2 separate regions of the Homo sapiens genome follow, and region 1 is linked to region 2. The links are contacts of gene promoters, found by promoter capture Hi-C in blood cells and fetal thymus (Javierre and others, 2016). All regions are on one chromosome and are shown on one strand. The core of a region is centred on a gene start or on the middle of the fragment in contact, and the rest is flanking DNA. Distances in the headings are between cores, read along the strand shown.

What was found. Contacts are between HindIII fragments. The CHiCAGO score rates a contact against its expected background, and 5 or more counts as called.
Region 1: a fragment that was not itself captured here is called in contact with the fragment with the promoter of TAGAP in region 2 in 2 of 17 cell types (total B cells and naive B cells); the score reaches 7.7 in total B cells.

What each region holds. Positions count from the first base shown.
Region 1 is chr6:159,077,724-159,081,113 of GRCh38, forward strand. All of the region lies in intron 3 of LOC112267968, which reads right to left. Among named protein-coding and RNA genes, the nearest start is that of TAGAP, 34 kb to the left of the region's middle. The HindIII fragment of the contact is 3,396 bases long and covers 434-3,390 here.
Region 2 is chr6:159,043,397-159,047,075 of GRCh38, forward strand. TAGAP (T cell activation RhoGTPase activating protein) reads right to left here and starts at 1,595. Exons shown (of 10, transcript NM_054114.5): 1 at 1,483-1,595; 2 at 724-808; 3 at 582-635; 4 at 193-259. The coding sequence starts at 750. The HindIII fragment of the contact is 8,846 bases long and covers 1,348-3,679 here.

The DNA.
Region 1 (3,390 bases), core at 882-3,381, 35 kb after region 2:
TCATTGTGCCTGGTACTGTGATAAAGATTTTTCAATAACTATTTTGTTTTGTTTTGTTTTTTGAGACGAGTTCTCACTCTGTCTCCCAGGCTGGAGTGCAGTAGTGCAATCATGGCTCACTGCAGCATCGAACTCCTGGGCTCAAGCAATCCTCCTGCCTCAGCCTCCTGAGTAGCTGGGACTAGAGGACTGAGCTACCAGGCCTCGCTATTTTTTTTTCTTTTGTAGATACAGGGTTTTGCTGTGTTGACCAGGCTGGTTTTAAACTCCTGGGCTCAAGCAATCCTCCTGCCTTGACCTCCCAAAGTGCTGGGATTACAGGTGTGAACCACCACACTCAGCCTAATAACTGTCTTTTCTAATCTCCCTGTCACCACTATGCTGTGGTACTATTACTATCCACATTTTACAGAGGACGAAACTGGCATCTAGAAGCTTAAGACCCCCATAGACAGCTGGGACCAAATTCAAGTTCAGCTAAATCACCAGCCTGCTCTCTATCATGCTGCTGCCCTGTATGGCCATTTTGGAAATTTCTGGCTAAAATAGCTACTGGATAGAAATGAACTACTACTATTGGTTCAGCATTTCTTCATTTATCCAGCGAACTTCTGTTGAGACCCTGCTGGTGAGGGCCCAAGGTGGATAAGGTTTGCCCCATCTGGAAGTCACCTGGGCTGGCTCAATTAGAGGGAGGCAATGCCAAAGGCAGTGGGAACCTTGAGGAAGGAACAACTCACTCTACCTGCGGCAGCTGGAGTGGACTTCCATGACATGGTGACATTGACGCTGAAGTGGGCTATCCCAAAGAGGAGAAAAAGGGGCAAGAGACTTGGAGAAGACTCAGCAAGGTGACCCAGGAATGGGAGGCGTGGGGAGTTTGGGAAACTCCAAGTATTTCCCTGCACAATGGGAGGAGAGGGAGGAAGTAGGAGAGAGTAAACCTTCTTAGTGCCACACTAGCTGGAGGGGCTTCATAAGAAGGCAGGTGATGTTACTGATGTTTTATTGAGATGATGTTTGCCATTGAGGATTGGAAGAGATGGGAGTGAGGTGAGGCGGGTGCTAGATGAGATCAGTCTTGAAGCCACTACTCCTCTGTGGTGGCATGAAGGATGAAATGGGCTGAGCAGGTAAGGAGACAGGTGCAATAGTCAGATGCGAGATGATGAGGGCCTGGGATGAGGCAGAGGGGATGGGTTAGAATGACATGGTCTTGGTCATTGAATGGATTTGGGCAAAGGAAGAAAAGGAGAACATTTTGGCTTCTGCCTCGCCCCATTGTCTCAATCTCATGCTAAAGGGGACTCTCTGTCTTGACTTAGTGGGTGCATACTTGAAAATGGAGTTTCAGGCTGGGCGTGGTGGCTCATGCCTGTAATTCCAGCACTTTGGGAGGCCAAGGCAGATGGCTTACTTGAGGTAAGGAGTTTGAGACCAGCCTGGCCAACATGGTGAAAACCTGTCTCTACTAAAAATACAAAAATTAGCTGGGTGTGGTGGTGGGTGCCTGTGCTCTCAGCTACTCAGGAGACTGAGGCAGGAGAATCGCTTGAACCTGGGAGGCAGAGGTTGTGGTGAGCCAAGGTTGCGCCACTGCACTTTAGCAAAAAAAAAAAAAAAAAAGGATTTCAGGGTGGCTATTACCTAAGTAAAGGTGGATGGGTTTTTAAGTTCCTCTGTTTCATTTGTTCACTTCTATTATTCATGTCTCTAGCATGAATCTGCAAGCAGAACCAGTCCCAGTGGAAACTGTGGTGGAGGAGGTTCGAAATGACAGGGGGTACATTATGTAAAGCTGCTGTCCTTTTTTTGTCTCCCGGCCGCTCCCAGCCTTGCACTGGGTCTCTCCCTGGTTACAGAGTACAGCATTCCAGAGAAGAACAGTTTGGCAGAAAATAAAAACATTTGGCATATAGTAAAAATAAACAGAGATCTGCAATGAGGAAATCTTAACCCTGAACAATTCATGGAGAAAATATCTTCTGGGATATTTGAACCATCAAGAGTTGGGATAATTTAACATATGGGCTATAAAATGAGGAAGAAGGAGACAAATTTAAATGCTTCCTTTAATTAGAATATCTTGGTGAAATTGGGTTATAGCCTCCTGGGACCAATTGTTTTATTTTATAACTTTTCCTTAAATTTTGTTTTGCATTTTTTTTCACTATATCAAGAAAGCCTAGACCAAATAAACTACTGAAACATCTGGGCTCAGAACTATGAGGCCCCCACATAGCTGTCTAAAGCACAAGAAAATCCAGGTTCAAATCCCAACTTCACTGCATACTCATGCTGTGACTTGAGGCAAGGGGATAACCCACGCATCAGCGTTTCGATCCTCAAGCTAAGAATAAAAACACCAAGGATAGGTTGGTCTGAGGACCAAATTATAGAAATAATATGAAAATGTTAGTCTACTACCTGGTCCACAGGCAACACAGAATAAAATGTTAGCTCTTTATTATATCATTTAATTCAAAGAGACCAAAGTCACGTGTAGTGGCATTTGGGCATAGCAGCAGGCACACAGGAAGTCTCATGGCCCAGCAGAATTGCCTTACTTAGCTTCTCTCTAGAGACAGAGGTGTGGGGCAGCCTTCATTGTGATTAATGAAACAGAGGTTGGCCAAGGTCTATGACAGCACAGGTCTTCCAGTCAGAAGTGAACTCCAGGCAGGGGTCCATTCTAGCTCTTGTGTTGACAGCACAATGTAAGAGACACTTAGTCTGTAAGAAACTTGAAATAGCCCATAACCTTCCTCACATCCTCCACCTCCTACCAAGCTCTGGGGCTGTCCCACTTTGTGCACAGACTGGAAGTTGTGCTTTGTTGACACTGGGGTAACGTAACTGTGCACATCTGCTAATGGGCAAGGTGGCCTGGCAGAGGAACGGTCTCAGGGGCTTCCCCTTCTGCAGAAAGGACTGTGGAGCTCACACCCTGAGTTTAGAGAAATGACCAGTCCCTTTCTTTCTTTCTGTCTGTGCTCTATGGGTTAATCTAACAATACCCATCAAAAGGAAGGAAGAGCCACGAGGGTCTTTTTGTTTTATTTTTAGCAGAGCCCTCCTTCCTGTCTGGTCTTCCCCAGTCCCTCACTTAGGTCCCACACTCTGTGGTGAGGCAGTCATGCTAATCTGCCTTACAACCAACTTTCCATCATCCTTACAATTAGGAGTTACTGTAAAAAATAGATCTGGAACAAGGGAATATACATCCTTAAAAAAAAAAAACAAAAAAAAAAAAACAAAAAAAACAAAAAAAAAAACAAACCAAAAAACAAGGCCAGGCATGGTGGCTCACGCCTGTAATCCCAGCACTTTGGGAGGCCAAGGCGGGTGCGGGTGGATCACGAGGTTAGGAGATTGAGACCATCCTGGCTA
Region 2 (3,679 bases), core at 345-2,844:
TTTCCTTTCCCAGCACTCCCTGCTCTAGTGAGTTGGAGCATACCTGCCATTTAAGGGTTAATGTTCTGCGGTCTTTAACAGAACAACTTATACAAAAAAATTCCTAGTAGAGTAAAAGCGCTGTGGTTTTGCAAACCAAGAGCACTGGTTGTTAGCACTTACATAAAAGATCGGTATGTTTTTAAAACTCACCAATGAGCTGGCAAATACTGTCTTCACTCTCACATGATGCCAACAGGGGATGTTCCTTGATATCACCCTAAAAACATTTTTATTTCAGTTAAATATAGTGACTGAAGAAACCTATCGAGTCTTTCCCCACAAAACACACATACAGCATTTTATTCATATTAAAAATGAAGTCAGTAGAGTGCATTGATGTTTTTTCTAGCTTCTAGAAGCAATATTAAGGTCTTGATTGTCATCATATAAGATCCTAATTAATGTGCTTAATTTACTACATGTGTGATGTTAGTTTACTACTCTTATAATTACTATTCAACCCAAATAATATTCAATTAAAACAAAGTTTTCCACCTTCTCACAGTACAGATAAAAAGTCTTAAAAATTGCTTTCTTACCTCTGATTGACATTCGATTAGTGTCTCCATATTATTGGCGTTTAGTGTTTTTGACTAAAAGAGAAAAAATAAAATTAGGTAAATATCTTTTGGCCCTTGCCTGTAGGAAACGTGAATGAATGAATGTGAGAGGGGCACTCACAGCATTGTGGCTGCTTCTCAGCTTCATCAGTATTGCGGCTGACTGTCCAGGGGTGGATTTCACTCCCGTGTGGCTGTGCCTCTGTCTACAACGAATCACATGGAAAGGAGTTAGGAGGGACTCACACAGTAGGCCACTTTCAGCGCCACTTTGCCAAAGCACAGAGTTTGAAACTATTTATTTATTTTTCTCTTTTGCTATTTTTTCACTTGCCTTTACTTTGGAAAAAACTATTACATAGACAAGTTTTCATTTAAAATCAGTTCTGTTACCAGATGTTGTATGTTGTTAAGAGCAGCATCTGAACACAATTATTTCTAAATTATTTAAGTCAACTATCTTTACCACTCTAAACGTTGTTACCAATTTATTCCGTTCCATCAAGAGATAATCTGGATATCAATTACGTTAACATTTTAAATTAACATGAACATTAACTTTTTTGGTGGAGTGCTGACTATATGCCAGCTGTCGTAGTAGGTGCTTTGCATGGATTTTCTCATCTAATCCAAAAAGGAAAAAAAAAAAAACATATCCCTAGGATGCTAAAATAGTAAACATGAAACAAAGATAACATTTACAGAACTCCTACACCAAAAAGGTGCAGCCTTCACGTTGAAGCAAAGCTTTGTCCTGAGACTTTATAAAGTGAGAGCATATTCCACGGGATAGCTGTTTTCTGTTGCCTGTGATCTGAGTGACCTGTGACTTGCGAGGCAGCTTGTAATTTCTAGGCATGTTAATATATAGTGTACTTACCCTTGGAGGGTCTCTAGCCAGAGTTCTTTTACATCCGGTGAGCTGTAAAGAATGGGAGAAACAGCATAACTCTCTGCTCCTTCTAGTCCACTGGGAGAGAGAGAGACCGAGCCGGTCTCCCTTCACATGCTCTGCATTATAAGCGAAGGGGCGGGCAGGTGGAAATTCAGAATATTACAGAGACCGGAAAGAACATCATGGGCTGTCACACGGACGGAGCCAGCCAGACACTGGAGAGCTCTCGCTTCCTCATTCCTTTTAGGGCAGCTATGTCTTTTTTTTTTTTTTTTTTTTTTTTTTTTTTTGTGTCTTCCACTTCAAAGTAAAAAATCTGTAAACTACTAGGAGTGGAAAACATGACATTCAGCCCATAGGTGAAGGCTCTGATTAATGTCATAGGTGGGATGTGTGAACAAGAAATTGTGTTATTCTGTGCATAAACATCACTTTATTTTCTAAAGTGGTAATTTCAAGTGCCTCTTTTTGCATCCTGTTTGGGTGCTCTTTCCCCTCCCACGTGCCATCTGCTCTGTCCACCAGCACCACACGTTGATTAGCACCCCTGGATGTGGGACACTGTTACAGAACCAGAAAGAAACCCAAGACAGTCCCTTCCTTGAGGAACAATCACCGTCCAAAGCCAGGTTAGTTTCCTTTGGAAGTAGAAAGAAAACTCCCTCGAGTCAGTTGTCAATATAGTAACCCCCTCCTCCTTTCTGTAACTCCTGGTCAAAAGTATTGATACTTAATTTACAGTCAGAGCAGCTGTCGTTCTGACACGGAAGGAAAACAAACAAAAAAATTCCTTTGATCAGACCAACTTAAAGTAGGAAAGAGATGGTGAATTTCATTTGTGGATCACTCTTCTGCATAAGAGAATTTCTGATCTTTTCTGTAGATCAAGGGCTATATATGAAACCACTCAAATGCCTCGACACGAGAATGGATGCATAAATTGTGATCCATTCACATAGGGAATGAATGTTGTATAGCACTGATAATGAACAGCCTATGACTATAGCCAACAATATGGTTGGATCTCATAATATGACGCTGAGCAAAAGAAGCCAGACGTGAAAGTGTATATCCTGCCGGCTCCCATTAATGCAAAGCACAAAATTAGCAAAAGTCGTCTGTGCTGTTGGAAGCAAGAGTAGCAGTTTCCCAGAGGGGATGGTAATGACTTCCAGGGGCCAGCGGGGGGCTTGGTGATGGTCCATTCTTGATCTGGGTGGTGCTAGGCTTATGTGCACACTTCCCTATTTATGTAATTTTTCAATAAAAAGTTTTAAAATAACTTGGCTTCATTTATCATCAGCATCTTTAATTTTAAGACTTTTCCGCATTGTCAGTTCTTTTGTCATTTTACTGAAAGGAGGTGATTATGGGGCAGACTTTGGGAAACCGAAGCACAGAGAGGTCGAAATTTGCTCTGTAACTTAGCGGCTCGGTGGGGACCTAGGGACAGATCCTGGTTTTCAGGCTTCCAGCTGGGGGCTCCCTCTCTGAAAGCCACCACAGTGCCAGAGTTCACCCAGTGTTCCCAGGGCAGCTGTAGAGGCCACCACTCTTTCAGCATCCCTCTCCTGCCTTTATAAACCTCCAAAGTGAACTCACTGATTTTTTTAATTGAAAAAGGGCATTTACGCTGTGCCCAGCCTAGTGCTAGGCATATAGTAGGTACTAAATAACTAATTTCTGAATATATACATTTCCTTATAAAATAGCCAAAATAGAATATTACTATAATGTTCTATATATCATAGAATATATATGTGATGTATATTCATTGCTAGTATGTATTTTCTAAACTTTTTTTTTTCCCGACAAACGGACTTTTCAAATTTTTGTAAGAAACTTAATGTACTTACTGTTCTTTCTTTTTTTTTTTTTTTGAGATGGAGTTTCGCTCTTGTCACCCAGGCTGGAGTGCAATGGCGTGATCTCGGCTCACTGCAACCTCTGCCTCCTGGGTTCAAGTGATTCTCCTGTCTCAACCTCCTGAGTAGTTGGAATTACAGGCACGCGCCACCATACCTGGCTAATTTTTGTATTTTTAGTAGAGATGGGGTTTCGCCATGTTGGCCAGGCTGGTCTGGAAATCCTGACCTCAGGTGATCCACCCATCTTGGCCTCCCAAAGTGCTGGGATTACAGATGTGAGCCACTGTGCCCAGCCTCAGCATCTTTTAAAAATA